3 separate regions of the Homo sapiens genome follow, and all the other regions are linked to region 1. The links are contacts of gene promoters, found by promoter capture Hi-C in human tissues and cell types (Jung and others, 2019). All regions are on one chromosome and are shown on one strand. Each heading gives the region's core, a stretch centred on a gene start or on the middle of the fragment in contact. The rest is flanking DNA. Distances are from core to core; before and after follow the strand shown. Region 1 holds the start of CDO1 (cysteine dioxygenase type 1). Region 2 has its middle 29 kb from the start of TICAM2-AS1. Region 3 overlaps LVRN (laeverin).

Evidence for each region. The method cuts DNA at HindIII sites, captures the fragments that hold promoters and counts their contacts. A contact is called where the count stands out against the background at its distance.
Region 2: a contact is called between a fragment that was not itself captured here and the fragment with the promoter of CDO1 in region 1, in 3 of the 25 tissues and cell types used here (dorsolateral prefrontal cortex, hippocampus and liver).
Region 3: a contact is called between a fragment that was not itself captured here and the fragment with the promoter of CDO1 in region 1, in 1 of the 25 tissues and cell types used here (mesenchymal stem cells).

What each region holds. Positions count from the first base shown.
Region 1 is chr5:115,814,264-115,818,376 of GRCh38, forward strand. CDO1 (cysteine dioxygenase type 1) reads right to left here and starts at 2,396. Exons shown (of 5, transcript NM_001801.3): 1 at 1,965-2,396. The coding sequence starts at 2,134. LOC124901049 (a long non-coding RNA gene) reads left to right here and starts at 2,825. Exons shown (of 2, transcript XR_007058908.1): 1 at 2,825-2,908. The HindIII fragment of the contact is 9,051 bases long and covers 1-4,113 here.
Region 2 is chr5:115,571,563-115,575,675 of GRCh38, forward strand. No RefSeq gene overlaps it. Among named protein-coding and RNA genes, the nearest start is that of TICAM2-AS1, 29 kb to the right of the region's middle. RefSeq lists enhancers at 3,744-3,793, 3,824-3,893. The HindIII fragment of the contact is 6,791 bases long and covers 1-4,113 here.
Region 3 is chr5:115,963,836-115,967,948 of GRCh38, forward strand. All of the region lies in intron 1 of LVRN (laeverin), which reads left to right. Among named protein-coding and RNA genes, the nearest start is that of LVRN, 3.4 kb to the left of the region's middle. The HindIII fragment of the contact is 3,590 bases long and covers 452-4,041 here.

The DNA.
Region 1 (4,113 bases), core at 1,146-3,645:
AACAAGAAGCTGTGTACACAACCTTCAATTCACAGTAAACTGAGTTCCTGCAGAAGGATCCTAATTCTTCCTCCAGAAGTCTTAGGATAATCTTTGTTGCTTCTCTGCAGCTTCTTTCAAAGAATTCACAGCCTGGCCCACACGGGAGCATATTCTGTCTTGATTCTTCTGCACTGGCCCTCCCAAAGTCAGAGAACAGAATCCTTCACAGCGCTAGGCACCTATTTAATGCAAAAAATACTGTAGAATTGACTTCTCTCCCATCTCCTGTCTTCCCCCAACTGCCCCCTCGGGACTACATCCATTATGTTAATGAGCTGTACCTCAGATATCTGTGAAAAGACCGATCAACCCAGCTGGTTGCACTTCAAAAGCTTTAGAGTTTGTCAATCGAGACTAGTTCAAGGTCCTTGAAAATACACTTGTTCTAAAGATTAAAGATTAAAAACTGTTACAACCTGTCCTGGTTTAACAGTGGTTTAGAGTGTAGGCTCTGGAACAACAATGCTAACCCCGGGAGCCTGGAGCCGCTATCGATAGAAGACCTAGTGCAAGTCATTCAACTTCTTCATTGCCTGCCATTCCTCATATGTGTCAAGTGTCTGGAAGAGTACCTGTCCCATAACAAGTCTTCAATTACCTGGAGCAAATGCAAGAAAATTTAAAAGCTAGACTCTCTGCTAGCTTTCACGGCTACAGAAGGGCTCTACCATGAACTAAGCTGATAGGAGCCAAAGGAATTTCCTCAAGTCACTTGTATATGAAAAATGGGATCCTTAGTGGTCTTCACTTTTTCTATTTCAAATCCTAAAATACAGTTGAAACCGCCCATGCCAACAAAACTTTACGAAACATCCCACATGTTGAAGAGTGACTAAAAGAACCTGCTCCCAAGAAAAACAAACTTACTTCTTTCCTTATTCTTTTCTTTCACTTACCCCTTTCTCCTAACCCTAAACCCAAAAAACCACAAAGACTGACGCACTAACTGCTCAGAAAAAGTAGAACCTCTCACACTTCGGGGTGATTAAATTTTACCTCTGGCCCCGGAGGATTGGTAGAGAGATTCGACTTAATCACCAAGCCGGGGCTGCAAAAAAGCCAGCTTACCAGGGCACCTCACTCAAGTACATCTGGGAAGTAGGGGTCTTTAATTTACATTACAGATCGTCAGAAGCAAGGATAAGATAAATCAGATCATTTGGGGGCTGAAAAAAACGACGGTCGAATATTTAATCTGCGAAACTTGGCAGTGGATTTGAATAAACCCACAGTCGGGGAAGTTAGTTAAATTGGTTTGGGAAAGGGAACAGCAGAAATTCCGTAGTGGCAGCTGACGGCCACAAGACGCTATTTTACATGAGTAAAAATGCTTGCTATAAGGTGCCCGGTTGCAGGCGACCGAAGGCGCAGTGATGGAGAACTGACGCGGGTGACTTGTCTTCTTCAACATCACACACTTCTCCCGATGGCTGATGTAGTGCTCCCCTGGGAGCACCCTCTGCTAGTCCGGCCAGACGGTTCCTTAAGGTGTCAGGAGGGCCCGAACCTGAGTGCGGTCTCTCCGCATCTCCGCGCCCGGGGTTAACGATGGCTTGGGAGTGTGGGCATTGCTCCCGAGGCCAGGGGCAGGAGGACTGGTGGTTTAGAAGCAGAGGGGTTTGCGGGAGAGAAGAGAACAGAAAATCTCGCAGACGCGCGGTGGCCTCCCTTCCCGGCGCCTGTCCGCCGTTCCCGGCCGGAGGTCAGCAAGGCCAGTAGGATCCACCTTCCGCCTGCGCTGTGGCCGCGGAGCCCCAAGCGAGTCGTGCCAGCCCCGCGGCTGGCCAGCGAGGGGGCGAGCGGCGGACGCAGCGCGGCCCGAGCTTCCCGAGCCAGTCACTTTGGGCTGCGTCCCCCACGTCCATTCCTCCTCAGACGGGGCGAGTGGGCGCCGCCTGGCATTGAAGCTGCAGCGCGCTCACCTGTACTGGTCGAACTTGGCGTACATTGCCCACTCGGTGGGGTCGCTCTCGTAGGCTTCCATGATGGCCTGCACCTCCTCTACATTGACCTCATCGCCGGCAAAGAGCTGGTGCAGGATGCGGATCAGATCAGCCAGGGTCCGTGGCTTCAGCACTTCGGTCTGTTCCATCTCGTGGGGAGCTGGCTGCGCGCGCGTCTCACTGCTGGGCTGCGGTGGAGGAGCTGAGCGAGCCAAGGAGCTGGGGGCGAGGGAGCCTAACAGCCCGCTAGACCGCTAAGCAGACACACACGCACAAACCCAGCATTAGAGTGCCGAAACGTAAGGATGTCGTCGCAGAGACAGCAAGAGACCCACCCCCAGGCCCCTGGCAGCGCAGTGGATCCGGGATCGCTGGAGACGCGGTGCACACACAAATCAGGTTCAGATCTGTGGGGTTCATCCTCCCGGGCCCCTTTTAAGCGCTTGGAGTCACTAGGAATGTACCAACGGCCCTCGGAGGGAGGACGAGGCGGAGAGCCACCCAAGAAAGGTGGCGGAGGCGGGGAGACCCTGCGGGCACGGCTCACGCGCACATCCCCGGCTTCCCCGGGCTCCGCGCCTTCCCAAGAGCCCCGTTGTCTCCGGCGTCCCAGGGATCGCGTGGGCTCCGCGCAATCTCTCCCCCACTTTAACGGCGCGTTTTAGCCGCCCGGCCTAACGCCTCTCCCCGCTCCACCTCCGCCGCTGTGGTTCGCGACGCTGGGACGTAGACAAAAAGGGTCGGAGGAGATGGCTGCGGGGACTGACGCTGAGTAAAGGAGGAAAAGAAAAGGGAAGGAGAGGGACACTTCTTCCAAATAGAGAATTGTGAGGAGCCTGCGAAAATTGAGGATGGATTCCACTCCTAGGCCAGAGAGTGCCTGTTTTGTCGATTGAAACTATCCACGATATGCCCCAGGCTAGGTGAAAATAAGTCCAAGACTTTATATATATATATATTTAAGTATACACACACACATATTTTTTAAAATGCGTACTGAAATATATTTTGACAAAGGAGACTCGGGTCTCTAGTAAGACAATTAGTGAAATGATGGAAAACCAAGAACTCTTTGATTTTAAAATCAAATATTTTCTTTTAAAAAATATCCAGTGCAAATAACCTGATATTTCATTTGATGGTGTAAAAGGGGGCTTTTTCTGAGGGGATAGGGCGGGCTCTGACGCAATAATTTAAGAGGCTATAATTATATTTGAATCTTTCAACCTTAGGCATGTGCTTGAAGGAGCCTGCTAGTACATACATATAAGGAAACACGTTTCTACGTCATGCATAGCACCTAGTACGTTGGGAACAACACAAATCAAGTACAGTAGGATTTAAATGAGAAAGATGTGAAAGGTGGAAGAAATGCAAGTGTAGATTTCTTCCTTCTCATTATGGATGGACGCAGGGAATAATTTGGATTTAAGGTTATTAAAGTTCTAGACTTCTGAAGACCTGTTTTTTTCTAGACTATGATCACCCTCCCTCGTGTATATACATGTATACAATGAAATTTACTTGTGCCAGGTAGTCTTAAACATCTCTGGTAAAACTCGCTACATTATATTCTAACAGTGTTGTTAAAAGCGGAATCACCTATTGTTCAAAAATGGCTACAAGTAGAAAGCATTCCAGAAGCCAGCCTTGGTGATGTGTGTTGCTGCGGGGTAGTGAATTAACAAAGTATTTTGTGACAGAGTAACCTGTAAACTTTTCATGGTTTCCTCAAATTATTTTTTATTCTTGGCAATGTTTTCTATTGAGTCTCTTAATTACTTCATTTCAGCTAGTCTAATCCATAAATGTTTGGAATGAACAACAAAAATGAAATGCAAGCACAATTTATCTTTTCTGCATTTCAGTTGATAAAACTTCTAAATTTTTCTGACAATTCATTTTCTTTCTCTGACTCCTCTTTTTCTTTTTACATTTTTATGAAAGTAATATATTCACGTAGTTAAAAAAAATCAATAGTACTGGAAGGTCAATGAAAAGCAGCAGGCCCTTTTAACCATTCCTGACCATCTGTCCTGTGCTTAAAGAGTCAGTCTCTTAACTCTTCTAACTATTCCTTGTGGTAGTTACTTCCTTTTTCCAAAAATAGGCTTATATTTTTTTTTGT
Region 2 (4,113 bases), core at 772-3,271, 240 kb before region 1:
TTGCTGGCAACAGAGTAGCTACTATAGCACACACACAGAACTGACCAGTGAATGAATGGCTGGGAGCTTTCCAGTTCTGGGCAAATATAAAACTCAGGGAAACAAAGACAGTATTGGAGTCGCTGGGTCAGTGATTAGAGATCCTTATGTCACCCGCTTCAGAACACCAGCCCTGAGTTTTCTCTCAGCTGTGCACCAGTGACTGGATGCCTGACTGCAGCAGCCACTACGACAAGAAGGAGGCAGTATAGATGAAGCCTACCATAAGATGGAGCTCATCCTTACAGAGATCTTTTCTTTAATTTTTTTTTAAGTTAAAAGCAATAAATGTATTCTTAAGTGGTAGATGGATTGTTCTTTGGCTTTAGGCAAATGTATTAGAGGAAAGTAACACATATGGCCTTGAAGGGGAAAAATAGGGCAACTATCAAGATCTGGATCTAATTGCTTAACTAGTCTCTTAGCAGTCAGCCTTGAATAATAGGCAAGGTCAGGATGAAAGCGACTTCTAAGAATGCCTTACTCCCCCTGTCCTAAGTACTGTATCTCTATTAAATCACTTACTTTCCAGAACACCTCTGAGGTAGTCATTCCTATGATTTCTACTTTACAAATTGAAAGTATAGAAAGGTTAACTAAATTTGACCAAAGTTACCCAACAAATAAATGTACAACTAAAATTGAACCCAAATAATGGGGCTGCACAGGCTGTACTCTAATCAAAACATACGGCATTCAATATCACAGTAGTTTTACATAAAATCTAAGCATTAAACATAATTTTTGCTAGATCTATCCCACCCTGAAACTCACAAATCACAGTGTATGTAAATGTCTGCATTCGTTTCCCTTTGTTAATGTTTCCTATATTGCTGAACAACATCTTTGTTCTGAAACACAGAAAAGATGCACATGATTATATGCATACAGGAGCTAAGCAACACATTTTTCCTGAAATAAACACTAGTCCCACTTATTATGTACCCCATTTTTCCTCCTCCCTCTAAATCAAAGCAGTGTTTCATTTAACATATGTGTCATCTAGTATGAGCAAATAAACTACATAAAGCAAAACAAAACAAGAGTATTTGGCGACCCTTTAAATTATCATGCCAGACATAGTGGACTTCTTGTTCAGAGCTAAAAGACACTGACATCCTCCTCTCTCCCTAGACACAGACAGGGCTTACTAAGAGAGCATCATTTCCATTTCCAAAGGTCATGGAGTTTGTGACAAAATAGTGCTTAGTGATGCTTGTTCAAAAGCTGAAGTGAAGAAAGTACAACAAAAGAAGGGAAGCATTTTAGAATGGGCAGAGACCTTAGTTTTTAGAGCTCAGAAAAAAATCACACAGCTAGAAAATGTTAGAAATCAGCTACTGCAATACTTTGAGTCTTCTGGAGGAAAGTGAAGATTAGAAAAGTTAGCTCCACAGCAGCACAGTGGAATTAGGACGCATAGTTCCTGAGACTCTCTGTCATGAGTTGTGCATACTAGGCAAAGAAGACTAGAATTATGGCAACCTCACCATGAACTTGTTATGGTTTTCTCTTTGTACTACTGGCCTCTCCTAATTTCTCCACCATGAGAAAAGCAGACAGGTACATTGAGAAGCACAATTATGAAGCCTAAGACCCACAAGGCTTTGGAGCCAGACCACTGAATATTTCAATGACTCCATCCTCTACCAGCCTGTGATCTTGGGTATATTACATTTCCAGCATCTGTTTCTTGGCCCAGTATTGGACACTGTATGACTAACCTTGTAGGAATCTGGGGAACACTGGAGATAATGTAAGTTAAGTGCCAAACACAGTAGGTGATAAAAAATGAAACGTATTATTACAAGCATATATTTCTCTACCCATTGACAGTCTTCATCTTTTTTTAGTTCCTCAAATCATTGCACGTGTAGGAAACATCTACAGCACTTAACATGACTACAAGTGAATGCTAATTTAAAAAATAATTATGAACTTTTTCAAACATACAGGAGAGCATGGAAAATAATATACCATCACCAATGTAAGTACCCATTAAAAATACAGAGCTGTCTTGTACGTTTTAAAACTTTATATAAATGTTATCAAATTATCCATATTATTCTATAATTTACTTCTCCCACATATTACATTTTAGAAATTTACCCATATTCACATATGTAGGTTTCCTAGTTATTTTTAATGCCCTATAGTATTGATTTCATGAACCTGCCATAATGTATTCCTGCATCCTCCTACTGATGGACATTTAGATTGTTTCCCATTATTTACCTATTACAAAGAATGCTGCATAGGCATCCTTCTCACTCGTGCTTCTTTGGGTACCTGTGAGAGAGTTTCTTTGGGATACAAATCCAGAGGTAGAATTGCTAGATTCATAAGATATGCCCATCTTCAACATTACTAGTCATTGCTAAATCATGTTTCCAAATCACTGTAGCATTTTATTGTCATCTTTGCTCGAGAGTATTTTTTAGGTTCTTTATTGAGATATATTTTACATACCATAAAATTTACCCATTTCAAGTATACAACTCAACAGTTTTTAGTATATGTGCAGAGTTGTGCAACCAGCACTGCAATCTAATTTTAGAACATTTTAATGTGATAGCATTATTTATAAATACACATAAAATATACAGAAATCTGTAAAGCTTGTTATGTGTCCTGTCCAATATATACATGGAAAACCTCCGGAAGGAGCTAGTTTGTAGAGGTCCCCTACAAATAATAGAAAAAAACAATTTTCTTGATTTAAACCTGTAGTTTGAGTAGGTAGCTGAAAGCAACATTTCTAATTAGATTTGGAAACTGCTTAAATGCAGGTTCCTGTTACTTGCTAATAAAAGCATTTCTAATTATTCACCTCAGAGTGAAAATGACTCAGAACTCACTCTATCTGAAGAGAAATAGAAGTGTGTTAAACTAACTAAAGAAGTGATTTCCCCAGAACAATTCTTGCTCATGACAGAAAGGAAGGCAACTGTGAAGGAGTATAGATGTTGGAGTAAACAGTTGTGAGAGCAGGTTCATTGGCAAAGGAGAAGAGAGAAGAGCAATTGTCTTTCTTTTTTTCCACAAGTTAATTCGTTGAGCTTTTTTTTTTTTTTTTTTTTGAGACAGAGTCTCACTGTATCGCCTAGGCTGGAGTGCAGTGGCCAGATCTAGGCTCACTGCGACCCCTGCTGCCCAGGTTCAAGCAATTCTCCTGCCTCAGTCTCCTGAGTAGCTGGGATTACAAGCACCTGCCACCACGCCTGACTAATTTTTGTATTTTCAGTAGAGATGGGGTTTCACCGTCTTGGCCAGGCTGGTCTTGAACTACTGACCTCGTGATCCACCCACCTTGGCCTCCCAAAGTGCTGGGATTACAGGCATGAGCCACCACACCCAGCCTCATTGAGCTTTTAATCAAATAATTTTCATGCTCTGAGTTATTAATTAATGGCACTTTCAAGTATTACTTACCTCAATCCAAACTTAATATGTTAATTGACAAGAGTATTGCCACATATGACATATATATATATATATATATATATATATATATATATATATATATATATATATATAAGAAAGTTGTCCTTATCCAGCCGTTAAGTGTTCAAAATCTAATAAATTTTTCTACTTGGAATCTCATAAGAAACATCAGGTCCATGGACAACAACATCAGTTCTCTGGTTCATTCCTTCTGGTCATTGGCTTAAGGACATCAACTTCCAGATGCTGTGGTTTCATTTCATCAAGTGCCTGACAGCTTTCTGAAATTTCCTCCTTGCCCTTCAGACCATCCACAGGTGTGGAGGGTACGTCACTTTCTGTGACAGCTTAGCAGATGACCTAAGACCAGGCGGTGTAAGACTGAGAAGAGGAGGAAAGTCACAGAGGCAGCGCAGATTGCTCAGGGCAAACACACGGAATCCCACCTTACCAGCAATGCAGCCATGGCAACAGCTTCTCACTAGCCCTGGGGCCAGCCCCACCACACTCATGGATCAATGGACTTTCTCTACAGTTGGGAATAGCCTGACTCCACAGCATGGCATGTGGTTTCTTTACCTGCACTGAGGTTTTTTACCTGCAAAATGTACAGATAAAGGACCTGAAATC
Region 3 (4,113 bases), core at 997-3,496, 150 kb after region 1:
TTTGTTTCTATTGCTGCCCCTTTTTAGGTCGCTGGTACCCCTGAAGCTTATCGTTCTCTTCAGAAAGCACCTTTCCTCTCTAGCCGGAAATTTCTTCACCCCATTCAACAAACCGCTTGCCCCTCAAAGGTTGGTCCTTGGGCCAGCAGCAGCTGTAACCTGGGCGCTTGTTAGAAATGCAGACATGTGTTCTTTTTACACTCATTTGAGATAATATCTCCTACACGGAATGTTTCCTGCCCCTGCACAAGAATTGTCTCTTTCCACGCTCTGAGACCACAATACTGTCCTCCGGCGAACTCCAGGGAAATAGCTTAAGTGGGAGATATCAAAATTTATTTTTTTTCCAACCGGCGATCTCTTTGTCCACTCACACACTGGTGGAGCATTTGCGCCGTACACAACTGCATGTACTTTGCCCTTTATTATTAGAGAAAATGTTCTCAGATGTTCTCTGAGGGAAAGAATCCCACTAAATTACACCCTGCACCATCTCCTGCACTACTTTCAAAATTTCAAAGGTTTCTAAATAAGTTTAAAGAGTTGCTCTAGTGGATGTATAATCTGTAACTTTTGTTTTTAAGGGCAGCGTGCTTGGTTTTTCTTTAAAAAATACATCAATGCTTGAAAAAATAGTTTTGAAATTTTCTTATTTAGATGATGTGTTACTCAACTTGTGAAGAAATCTTTTGAAATTACTGTGTAGGTCAGGGTGCAAAATATTTCAGAGGAAAAAATAGAAACACTTCACCTACATATCTGACTTTTTTTTTTTTCTTGCTGTAGGTCAGTAAATCCTCCTCTGTTCACCTACCTCTTCCTTGGTCCTGTTTCAGTGGGGCTGTGGCCCAGTCAAGCTTGCAAATGTGGGAAAGGGAAGTCCCGTTCAATTTTTCTATTGTGTTGCTAACTCTAGTGTTAACTAGAAACCATATTTTCAGAACATTAAAATTCAAGCAAGAAGAAATCTTAATAAAGTTCTACAGATGTTCATAAACCAAGGTAGAGCTCCAAAATTGTGATGTTTTGGAAGAGTTGTTACCCTTTGGGTCTCTGCTTCTGAAACCACAAGGAAAAGACACCTAAGGTTAAGCTTGAAGCCAGGGTCATGAAGAACCTGCAACAGAAGGATGGCTTGTGGTACGCCAGATTCTGGGAGCCCAGCAGGCCTGAGTTTGAACCTGAGCTGTGTGAATTGAGCTAGTCTCTTAACCTCTCTGAGTCTGTTTCCTCATTCACGGAATAGATATAATAACTGTCAACTATTAGAGTACTGTGAGAATTAAATGAAAAAGGGAGTACACAGTGACACATACAGCCTGGATAGTGGTAACTGCTATCCTTAGGTTGGATTATCATTATGATCAGCTTCCTTGTTATCTAAACGCAGAACCTGCCAAGTTCCTGGTATATATGAGTCTAAGAAGATTCCCAGAGGAGAAGAAGGCAGAAGCTGGGGAGTGGGGAGTTATTGCTTAATGGGTATAGATTTTAGTTTTGTAAGGTGATAAGAGTTCTGGAGATAGGTTGACAACAATGTGAATGTTCTTAACACTACTGAACTATTATACACTTAAAAATGGTTAAAGTGGTAAACTTTATGTTATGTGTATTTTACTAGAATTAAAAATTTTTAATGAGCAAAAATAAATTATAGATCAGGGAGTTTAGAATGGAGTTTAGAAATTTATACGTTTTGACGATTGTCTCAGATAATTCTGATGCCTACTATTGGCACCTCATATGGTTTTGTTGTGTCCCCACGCAAATCTCATCTTGAATTGTAGTTCCCATAACCCAGTGGGAGGTAATTGGAACATGGGGGTGGTTTCCCCCATGCTGTTCTCCTGATAGTGAGTGAATCTCATGAGATCTGATGGTTTTATGAGCCTCTGGCATTTCCCCTGCTTGCATTCACTCTGTCTTGCTGCCCTGTGAAGAAAGTACCTTTCTTCCCCTTTCTTCCCCTTCATCTCCTGCCATGACTATAAGTTTCCTGAGGCCTTCCCAGCCATGCAGAACTGTGAGTCAATTAAACTCCTTTTCTTTATAAATTACCCAGTCTTGGGTATTTCTTCATAGCAGCATGAGTACGGACTAATATGGTATCTCATACTTTTTTCTAACTTTTTATTTTGAAATAATTATAGATTCACCAGAAGTTGCAAAGATAATATAGAGAGGTCCTAGGTACCCTTCATCTAGTTTATCTTACATAATTATAGTACAATATCAAAATCAAGAATTTGACATTGGTACTATGCATATATATGTCTTTGTGTCATTTATCATATGCGTACATTTGCGCAAAAACTACCACAATAAAGATACAGAACTGTTCCACCTTAAAGATCATTCCCATACTTCTCCTTTTTATGCACTCATACCACTCCTAATCATCTCTAACCCCTGACAACCACTAATCCGTTCCATCTTTGTAATTTTGTCATTTTGAGAATGTTCTATAAATGGAATTATATCCTTTAGACCTTTCTGACTCAGCATAATGCCCTTGCGATCCATCCAAGTATGCATCAATAGTTTGAGTCTTTTTATTGCTAAGTACTATTCCATGGTATGGATGTATGAAAGTTTATTTAGTCATTCATCGATTGAGGGTTATTTTAGTTGTTTCCAGTTTTTGGTTTTACAAATAAATCTTCTATGAATAATTGTGTACAAGTTTTTCTCTTTAAGAGGCGGGGTCCCTCTATGTTGCCCAGGCTAGCCTCATACTTCTGGCCCCAAGGGATCCTCCTACCTTTGCCTCCCAAAGCACTTGTACAGGTTTTTGTGTGAACACAGTATTTATTTCACTGGGACAAATGTTCACAAGTGTCATTGCTGCGTCATATGGTAGTTGCATGTTTAGTCCTTAAGAAATTGCCAAATTGTTTTTCAAAGTGGCTATACCATTTTATACTCCTACCAGCAATATATGAGTGATAGATGTTCTCTGTATCATGGCCATCATTTGGTATTGTCACTATATTTTAGCTGTCCTGATAGGTGTATGGTAATATCTCATTGTGGTTTTAATTTGCATGTCTCCAATGACTAATGATGTTAAACATTTTTTTGTGTGCTTATTTGCCATCTGTATATCAGTCAGTGAAATGTCTCTTCACGTCTTTTCTTATTTTCTAATAGATTTTATTTTTTACTGTTGAATTCTGGAAGTTCTTTATATATTCTAGATCTAAGTCTTTTGTGAGATATATATGGTTTGCAAATATGTTCTCCCAGCCTATAGCTTGTCTTTTCATCATCTTAGTAAGGTCTTTCAGAGAATAAAAGTTTTAAATAAAAGTTTTACTTTAATTTTGATGAAGTCCAATTTGTCTATTTTTTAATGGATCATGCTGTTGGTGTCATGCCTGAGAACTCTTCACCAAGCCCTAGGTTCTGCAGATTTTCTATGTTGTCTTCCGAAAGTGTTTTACATTTAAATCTATAATCCACTTTGAGATGATTTTTTAAGATGTTATGTTTAGGTTGAGGTTAATTCTTTTGCCTATGGATATCCATTTTTTCCAGCATCATTTGTTGAAAAGAGTATCCTCCCACTATTGAATTGCTTTTGCACCTTTGTCAAAAATCAGTTGGCCCCACTATTACTGGATTCTCTATTCTGTTCCATCAACATAGGTGTTGATTCCTGTGCCAGTACTACATAGTCTTGCTTACTGCAGCTATACAATAAGTCTTGAAATTGTCTTTTTTTAGAATTGTTTTAACTATTTTAGTTCCTTTGCCTTTCTTTATATATTTTATGATATTCTTATATATAGCTACTAAAAATCTTATTAGGATTTTGATAGGACCTATGTTAAACCTTTATGTAAATTTAGGGAGAATTGCTAGCTTTGCTATCCTTAATATTCCATTCTATGAGCATTAAATGTCCATTTATTTAGATCTTTGATTTCATCAGAATTTTATCATTTTTAGCATACAAATCCTACACATTTTGTTAGATTCACACTTAAATATTTAAGTTTATTTCAGAAATAGTAAATGGTATTATATGTTTAATTTTGGTTTTCTACATGTCTGTTGCTACTATATAGAAATGCTGCTTTGTATGTTGATCTTGTATCCTGTTCTCTTGCT